2 separate regions of the Homo sapiens genome follow, and region 1 is linked to region 2. Evidence: promoter capture Hi-C in 16 types of primary human blood cells and fetal thymus (Javierre and others, 2016). All regions are on one chromosome and are shown on one strand. The core of a region is centred on a gene start or on the middle of the fragment in contact, and the rest is flanking DNA. Distances in the headings are between cores, read along the strand shown.

Evidence for each region. Contacts are between HindIII fragments. The CHiCAGO score rates a contact against its expected background, and 5 or more counts as called.
Region 1: a contact is called between the fragment with the promoter of DENND4B here and the fragment with the promoter of SHC1 in region 2, in 1 of 17 cell types (total CD4 T cells). The highest score is 5.3, in total CD4 T cells.

The regions. Positions count from the first base shown.
Region 1 is chr1:153,943,616-153,948,062 of GRCh38, forward strand. DENND4B (DENN domain containing 4B) reads right to left here and starts at 3,103. Exons shown (of 28, transcript NM_014856.3): 1 at 2,686-3,103; 2 at 443-782. The coding sequence starts at 759. It overlaps CRTC2 (CREB regulated transcription coactivator 2), which reads right to left. Exons shown (of 14, transcript NM_181715.3): 14 at 4,060-4,447. RefSeq lists enhancers at 1,355-1,454, 1,775-1,824, 2,293-2,793, 3,605-3,674 and a silencer at 2,315-3,214. The HindIII fragment of the contact is 4,483 bases long and covers 1,310-4,447 here.
Region 2 is chr1:154,967,265-154,972,148 of GRCh38, forward strand. It overlaps SHC1 (SHC adaptor protein 1), which reads right to left and starts at 3,483. Exons shown (of 12, transcript NM_001130040.2): 1 at 2,768-3,483; 2 at 2,114-2,184; 3 at 1,507-1,570; 4 at 1,231-1,350; 5 at 940-993; 6 at 716-767; 7 at 407-533. The coding sequence starts at 3,262. RefSeq lists enhancers at 2,260-2,810, 2,811-3,361. The HindIII fragment of the contact is 11,130 bases long and covers 1-4,884 here.

The DNA of each region.
Region 1 (4,447 bases), core at 1,853-4,352, 1.0 Mb before region 2:
TGCAGTGAGCCAAGATCACACCACTGCACTCCAGCCTGAGTGACAGAGAGAGACTCTGTCTATAAAAAAAAAAAAAAAAAAAAAAATAGTTATACAAGCTACCACTGACTGACTCTGTTAAGTCTGTCACATGGGTTATCTCATTTAATCTCGACCATCCTATGAGGATGAATTATTTTCCCCATTTGACAGATGAGGAAAACAGGCCCAGAGGAGCTCAAAAACCTGCCTAAGCTCTCAGAGCTAGCAAGGAGCAGCACTAGCACATGAAATCGCATCTGTAAGGACTAAGTACATACAACTTCAGTCCTTCCTTCCTGGCCCCTGGCCCACCAGGCTCCCATCCCCATTGCCCTTCCCTTGTTCCATAGTCCTACCTCTCCCTGTCTCACTGGAGTCCCTCCCAGCCTCCCCTGGTGCCAGCATGGGTAGGGGCACACACCCCAGCTCAACGAGGGGGGGCTTGTCACGGCCCCTGCGGTAGCAGATGACGGGTTGAGTTCCACCCAGAAGTCCAGCACTGAGTTCCAAGGGGTGGCCCCCAGCAGAAGCCTGGATGCATGTGTAGCCCTGGGGCACTTCCTCGCCCAGTGCCCTAGCGATGACTGCCACATCTGTGATGGGCTCAGCTGGCCGGGGAGGGCGCAGGGGCCCACTGGGTTCAGGAACCCACGTTTCCTCAGGGATGGGTGCTCCGTTCCCTGCAAGCCCAGCTACCACGAAGTAATCCACCAGCCGGGGGGGCCGCTCCTCCGCCATGGCCCCCCCCTCACTCACTGCATCTGGAATGGTCAAGTGGGAGAGAGATGAAGCAAGGAAGGCTGGGGATGCCATGGCAACCAGGGTACCCTCTTGCTCCCCTCCTCTTCCTAGTCCTTCCAAAGAAAGGCAGGATAAGGGGTCGGCCAATCCTGAACTCTTCCCCCTGTGACATCACTGCCCACCACAGCTTCTTAAAGAGACCAGATCCCTCCCACTTAATGGTCCTGGCACTCCCCTCAAAGAACCTAAACTCCACCACACACAGCTAACCTGAGCTATGACATTCACATTGTCCATGTGTCCCTTTTAAAGGCTCACCAGTTATAACATCACAGAGATCACAATCTTTTTTGTAATAGCCTTCCATGACATCATTCATGCTGGCCATGACATCATACCAACCTTACAGTCTTTTCAAGGGTTTCTGACCTTCCTACTCTAGTTATGACACCATAAGAACCTTGTGATCCTGCCAATGTTCTTAAAGAGCCCACTCCTAGGTTTTTAAGAGGACCCCATGGGTTTCTGAGAAAGCCCACAAAACCCAAGCTTTAAGAGTCTTTTCAACGAACCCAAGTGTCCTTTCTCCTAGCTTAACTCCACCAATCTGGCCCAAAATCCAGTGTTCTCACACCTCCAGGATCCTTAGGTAGCTCGTTAGATCCAAAGCAGTTGTGAGAGACAAGTCCCGGCCATCCCACACCCTCCACCATGGAGCCCAGAGACAGAAACAGGCCCACAACAGCCTAGTTCTCACCTGCCTCCATGGCCCAACCCCGGGGAGTAGGAGCCCCAAGGGTCCTGAGGCGCCCCAGGGTGCAGAAGCTGGGAAAAAGCCTGGTGGGTAGCTCGCAGCAGGGGCCCAGAAGCGTGGGGGGTGCTTCAGAGGGGAAGGGAGGTTACTTCCTGAAACAGTGGAGGGGAAGCTGCAACTCAGAGGAAGTCAGCCTATGGGTGTGTGTGGTGGCGGTGGCGGTGGTGGGGTTACCATTGAAGGTGCCAGCACAGCATTACGCCAAGTTGGAATCTCAGACTATAGGATCCTGAGCAAGGCAGAGGAGGCTCAGAATGGTTCCAGGATGTGCAGTCCTGCTAACCTCCTGCTGTTCCCCCAGAGAACAGGGAATAAGGAATCTCATAGAGCCAGGCTGGCTTTCTTCATCACCTGGCCTCTGGACACACACACACACACACACACGCACACACACACGCACACACGTACACACACCAACCCCAGCTAAATTTAGACTCCACTTCTGGGAGGTAAAGCCAGGAGTCAGCGTCAGCCTCTTGATTTAATTCTGGGGCACAGACCTGTCCCTCATCCACTGAGGGCGAATGGGAGCCCTATGCCCAAGGCAGCAGGCAGAGGCCATTAGGTGGGACCTTCTGAGGGGCAAGTGGGTGGCACCCATCCGCAGGACCTGCGCACCGGGGCCTCCCCTCACCAAGCCAGGGAAGAGTCCTGCAGAAAGCAGCCCTTTCTCCCTAGGGAAGACAACGGGCACAGGGCCCACTCCGGGTCCCCACGCCCGCGTGCCGGGTGACGGGAAGTTCGGGTTGGGGCAGAGGGCGCGCCGAGGGGGAGGAGGCTGAGGAAGGAGCAGGAGGGCAGAGAAGCAGGCGCGCCGGCGGCCGAGGACGTGACGGCAGCAGCGCCGGCCGCCGCGTGACCCAAGCGGGAGGGAGGGCGGCTCCGACTCCGGCACCCACGGGAGCAGAAGGGGGTGCAGGAGGCCGGGCACGGCGAGCTAATTGCGGGAGGTGCCCTCCCCTCCACTTTCACTTCCCCAGGAGAGAGGAACCGGAACCAGATGTGCAGTGAGGGACAGCAGCTGGGGGCCATCCCCCACCCCGCCTGCCGCCCGCGCTCCCTCCTGCCCGTCCCCGCCTGCCGCCCAGCCCGGTCCAGCCCCTACCTGCCTGTCCCGCGCTTCCCGGCCGGCCGGCCCGCTGGCGGGTGGCTCGGAGGGCGAGCTGGCGGGCCGGCGGGCGGCGGGGCTACCCGGCCCCAGACATGGCGCACCCGACTTGGGCGCCGCTCCCGCCCGGGCAGTGAGTGAAGGAAGAAGAGGCGGCCGAGGACCGCAGAGCGCGGGGCGCAGTGGAAGGAGATCCGGGCGGTCCCCGCGTCCCCGCCGCGCTGCGCCACGCGGGGACTGTGCTGCCGCGCTGCTCGCTCGGCCGGCTCGGTCCTCCCAGCTCCCGCGGCGCCGGGGACCCAGCGTTCCTCCGCGCGCCCCGCTTTCTCTACTCCCCCAACCCCCGCTCCGGGCCGCGGGCGCCGCCGCTACCCCCACCCCTCCTCCTCGGCCGGCGGCCGTGACCCTGGCAAGCGTCTGCCCAAAGCCCAGCCGCCTGCAGCCCGACCCCTGGCGGCTGGGAGGGCCCCCTGCACCCAGGTAGCTTCCCACCATCCAGCCCGTGCCTCAGGACACTGACCCCAGGCGACCCAGAGGGCCGCGGCGCGCTCCCTTCCCGCCTGGGTCCTGCAGTCAGATGTGGCAAGCATGATGTGGGCGCAGGTGAAGTCCCGAAGGTCTAGTCTACGGGGACCCAGGTGGCTCCCCCTACTTCCAGGTTTAGGGCACAGGGCATTCCCTTTGGACCAGAACCAGAAGCTCTCAGTTCTCTTTTTTGAAAATGACAAGAGCTTTGGAAAGAGGAAGAGAGGCCAGGACTGCAGGGTGTGGAATAGAGCAGTGGAGGTGGGGGTAAGGTAACTGCGGGGCTCTACTTTTCTCACTATGCGGGTTGGGGGAGTGAGGGGTGCAGAGGCCCACACGGCTGGTCCAAGGGCTGGCAACCCAATCCAGAAAGAGAAAACCTTCAGAACATGCATGGCACTGAAGGATCTGTTTAATTAAAACTAAAATGAATGAGTGGTGAAGAGTGGAGAGGGTGAAGTGAATGCATGCATAGTGAGGGAGTGAGGATGAAGGCTTGCTTCCCTGAGACCTAGGAGCACTTCAGACCTGTGGGCTCAGCCAGCAATCACCTCCTTACCCGACTCACTGCCAGACCTAGGGTTGAGGAAGAGGAATAACTTGTCTGATCAGTCAAAGCCCCCATCTGATGCTGCAGCAGGGCCCTGGACAGACAGGAGGGCACATGAAGTGATTTCCTGCTGCCGTGGAAGCCTACATCCAGCTGGGTACAAATTCCGAGGCTGTGGGGCCCTTCCACAAAGCACAGTGGTGCTAAGAAGATGCAAAAAGCCTAATAGATAAAAAGACCCATGGCCCTATAACTCCCTAGATCCCCAGCCATGCCCCAAATAACTAACCACACCAAGGGTTTGATATGATTTTTTTATTAACATATAATAATATATTTAATAAAAAATAGTATCCACTCTGGCTCTCTCCTCCACTGCAAGGGGAAGAGTGGTGAGGAGGGGCTGGCACTGCCCACCCCTAGGCATCCGGAAAAGCCCTGCTTCCAGGGCTCCCCTCTACCCCTGCTTTCCAACAGGCTCTGACCTCCAGACAGACGGTTCAAAGTTACAAGTGCTTTAGGCCCTCCCTTGAGTTCCCCCAGGCCCATCCCTTGCGCAGAATTCAGGGGCCACCTGGACAAACCCCTTGCTTTTTCTCATTCTTGGCATCCTTCATTCATGCTAGAAAGAGGATCTGGGGACAGAGAGTAGAGTCTCTACCTGCCAGGGGGAAGGGAGGAAAGGAAT
Region 2 (4,884 bases), core at 2,233-4,732:
CAAGGCCTGAGGTGGGAAAGGTTGTAATCTCAGGGAAAAGAGATATCCTCCCAAACCCAAATTCTTGATGGCTTCTAGAGGCAGGAAAACACATAATGCCAAGCAGAGAAATGAGCAAGAAAGAGGGATGGGAGTAGAAAATCCCACCTAGCCAGAGAGAGATGTAACTTGGAGGCCCCGGACTACAACTCCACCATGAGCAAACAAGAAAAGCTGGTCCTGCGGCAAGCAGGGCCTCAAAAGTCTTTCCTCCTGGGCCACAGGAAACAGAAGAATAGCAGGAAGTGGGAAGCAGAGGCACACAGGTTATTCCCTCCCTGAACCTCTCAACTCAAGTGTAGGAAGAGCAGCCCTCCTTTCCTAATCCTAATCCAAGAGCTGCTCCACACTCTCCCCACCTGCTCACCTGTCATGAGGGGTGACCAGTTTGGGTGGGTTCCTGAGGTATTGTTTGAAGCGCAACTCGAAGGCCTGGCCAATGGTGCTGATGACATCCTGGGCAAGCCCTTCGGGACACTCCAGAATGTGGCAGGCTGAGGGCACAGCAGAGGCTGTCAGTGAGCTGAGCCCACTGGGAGGAGGCACAGACAGGGGCCCTCATCTTCCTCTGCAGGAACCCCCACTGAGATCTACTTAGAGTGGGTACAGATGACCAAAGGTCCTACTCACCTCCTCAAACAGCCAGACCCACCCAGTGCTCCCCACCATGCCTCACCTCTCTGATTCACAGGGTCTTTGGCAACATAGGCGACATACTCGGCTGTGTCCTGGGGAGGAAGGTCAAAAAATTTTACAGTTCTACTTTACTCCTGACCCCTAAAACCCAGTCCTTTTCAGATATCCCCACAATCCTAGCACCCCCACTTCTCTAATCAATGTCTTCCCAATCCCTAGCCCCTTGCTCTTCTCCCACCGCCTTTGCTCTGTTCCCCAACTCACCGGATCCCCGCCGGATGCAAATGAGATAGATTGCATGTGGTGGTTGGCGATGATCTGAGAATTAGGGCAGGGGATGAAGAAGGAAGGGAATGCCATGTGTCAGGCAGCCTCAGGGCCCAGAACCCTGGTGCCCCAGTCTCATTCTCTGGGTTCCTTATCCCATATCCTCATTTCCTCCTTCCCTACTGGTCTCCTGCTCTCAAGCCCTCTTCCTAGATTTTGGCCTCCTAACTAGATCTCCCCTTAGCACCCCCATCAGTGTTTCTGGTCCGTCTGCCCACCTTCACCAACCTGTTTGCAGTCTGCGGCCATGAGGTTGAGGCTGCTGGTGGAGACGGTGAGAGTGATTGGCATTCCAGCAAATTTCAGGTTACTCCTCCCCAGGATAGAGCTGAGCGGGCGGCTACAGGGCTAAGGTAGGGCCCAGGGTCTCAGAAGGTGAGGGTTCCCAGCACAGGCAAACCACACTTTTGCCTCCTGGCCCTCTCCCCACATGCCCCACACTTGCCTCCCCACTGCCCCTCCACATTTCCCAGCAGCATCCCTATCCCCAAGGACCCCAAGTACCTTTCTCCTCCTTGTCGCCCCCTTAGCACCCGGCACAGCCTCACACACCAGACTGATGGCCTCCCTGGGGAAAGAGGGGTACTCAGACCCAGCGCCTGCCTGCCTGCCTCCCACTCAACTGGGGCTGCCACAGGGCTGGGGGAGGGGAAAGCCAGGCCAGACTCCCAGGGCACTCCAGGCTCTTTGTCATGGTGGATTGAATTAAGGGCCTTTAATATTTGATGACACTGAGAGGCCACTTCCTGGCTGATTGGGTTAGGGCCTCAATGGGTATAGCCCCACCCCCTTCCAGCTACCAAATGTCCCATTCCCTTCCCAAAGGCAGCAGCAACCTTCCATCTACCCCCCTTTTCTACTCCAGCTCCACCTGCCAGCTGCTTCTGCCACCTTCCCCACAACTCCCAAGGCTGGATAGGTAAGGAGGATCCGGGCCAAAGGGGCCTCCTTTCAGTAAGAGGCGGAATCACTACCTCAGCTTTCTCTCAATCCCCTTTACTACGCAAAGATCAGCCCCCAGCAGCAGCACCCAAGTGACCCACTCCCCTCCTCTGTTTCCCATGGCCTCACTAATCCCAGGACTCCCACAATCCACTCCCTCCCCACTAACCTGGTGACCTGAGTCCGGGTGTTGAAGTCCAGGGCACGCATTGACTGGAGGACCTCCACACAACCCATGTACTAAGGGGAGGGAGAAGAGGACAGCAGGTCAGCGGCTCCCCCACCCCAGCCCCTTCACAAAGGGCCCTAGGACTTTACCCATATGGTCCCTAAGGGAAGTAAAGAGGAAGAAGTTCTGCCCACTTCCCGTGGCTACATCCCACAACCAAGGTGAAAGACAACAGGGAATGAGGAGAAAAAGAAAAGGCAGGCTAGAAGGACCTCACACACTGGGGAGAGAGTTTGGAGGGGACCGACAGGCATTGGCTGGGATGGAGTGACAACTCCAGAAAGCGGGAGGAGAATGGAGGAAAGATCAAGAAGTCATTCATTCCAACACTTATTAAGAGCTTCTGCCATGCTGGGCATTGTGCTAAGCATGCCAGGGTGGGGGTGGGGGAGTGAAAAGAAGGAAGGGGGCCCAGGCAAAGCTGGAAGGGAAGGGGCTACAGAATCGGGGAAGGGATGAGAAAGGTTTAGGAAATAGGACACTGAAACGGGGTTGTTGGGGAACAGCAGGAAAAAAGAGATTCCGGCCAAGCTGGAGTGAGCATTAGAACTGGAGGGGGTCTGCGGGGGAATGGAGAGGAGGATGTTCACTCACCCGAACCAAGTAGGAAACCCCGGGTCCCATGACTTTGTCGTTGGGATGCAGCCAGCCCCGCGTGGGCTTATTGACAAAGCTCCCGTGGCGGGTCCACTCCTCGCCCCCAAGCTGGCCCCCTTCCACCCGAGTCCTGCGCCCGCCGCCTCCACTCAGCTTGTTCATGTCCTGGAGGAGGGGTAGGGGGCCTGAGTCTGGCATGGCTGCCCCTACGATCCCCTCCCCATCATCAGCTGCCCTTCCTGGCTCCCCCTTAGACCCTGGGCGCCCCCCAGCCGGGTTGGCCAGCCTCAGGTTGCTCATCCGGGGGAAGAAGGAGCACAGGGTAGTGGGACTATCGTCCCCAGGCAGAGGAGGCAGGATGGGCCCCAGGGATGAAGCTGATGGGGAAGGCAGCTCCTCCGGGGGGGTGGACCCAGAAGCCCCTTCCTCCAGCGATGACAGAGACTCATTCCGGAGTGGATTGTACTTGGGCTTGGGGGGCAGGAGATCCATAGTTGAGGTGAAAGAGGGGCTGCTGCCCAGCCTGGCCCCCCTGCCAGTTTGGGCAAGGGGGCCAGGCAGGGGGTATCCCCAGGCCCTTAGCCTGGTTGGACCTCTGTGGCCCAGGAGTCACAGAAGTCCTGGGGAGGGAGAGGGACAAGTGGCTTCCGCTCCCCAGCTCAGACCCAGACAGTTTCAGGCCCCATCCCCGCCCAACGTGGAGCCTCTTCTCTGGCTGAGAAGAGAACAGGCTGGACCCAGCGCTTCTGGCTCCTCCCCAGGGGCGGGGAGCTAAGGGGAGAGACCAATCGTGAGGACAGTGCTGACTCACAGGCTCAGAGGGGCTGAGCCCCCACCCCGCCCCAACCTCGAACTGGAGCAGGGGGTAGGGCTATCCAAGCCCCTCTCCCCTGCCCTATACAAACAACTAGTAATCTGGGGAGAAGTAAAGTGGGGGTGGGAGGGAAGGATGGAAGAGTGGGACGGAAAGGAAGGAGATAGGAGGTCTGGGTCACTCAAAACCGGACACACGCAGGCCAAAGGGGGCAGGAAGCCAGGCAGGAGTACAGGGGAATGAGGGAGGAAACAGAGGCAGCTGGGGGTGGAAAAGGGAGGAGATCTCAGAGCTCAGCATTTCCCTTCCTGTCCTGGTTGGACACTCGAATTCCCCCACCCTCTCTATGCCCGAAAGCTGGCTGGCCCCAGCCCAGGCCACCCCCAACCGCTACCCCATACAGTAAGCCTGGGCCATTAGCATCCTCTGCTACAGCAGCTGTGGACTGGAGCTAGCGAAGTGGGGATGGGAAGTAAGTGGTCCCAATGGATGCAGAGCAGGGCCAAGAGGAAGAGCAAAGCTGGTGAAAAAAGGGGAATAAAGTTCAACCTGGATGATACATCAGGAAGCTACCAGGCAAGAAGGGAACAAGAGGACATGCTGGTCACGGCTTGTTCTCTACGTATGCCATCTACCACACCAAGACCGATGGCTCATAGCCAAGCACTGTCCTGTCTCCCCTTTCCACAGGGCTTGTTAACACAGCACACTGTCAAGGGTGAGAATGAGGCAATCAGGTCCCCACTCCCACTCCAAACCACCCCAATTCACATCCCTCCTCTTACAGGGCCCTAAGCCCCACCAAAGAGCACAGCATCCTTCACACCAGGGAAGGAGCCTGGCTGGAGGAGGTGGAAGAAACAGTTCTCCAAGAGAAGTAGAAACTACAGGCCAGGAAGGGACAGAGAGATCAGAAGACACATCTGCGTCAATAAGGACAGGAGAAAAATAAGTACAGGAGAAAGGGGTGTCAGGAGAAGATGGGTTGAAGCTGGACACAGGGAACAGTCCCAAACCCATTCCTGCCACCCACGGCTTCCTGCCACTGCTCTTCCGGAGAATGCCACAGGCAAAGCTGGAAAGTGACCAAAAAAAAAAAAACAAAGATACGTATTCCTACCGGGCGCGGTGGCTCACACCTGTGATACCAGCACTTTGGGAGGCTGAGGCGGGTGGATCACCTGAAGTCAGGAGTTCGAGACCAGCCTGGTCAACATGGTGAAACCCTGTCTCTACTAAAAATACAAAAATTAGCTGGGCGTGGTGGCGGGCACCTGTAATCCCAGCTCAGGAGGCTGAG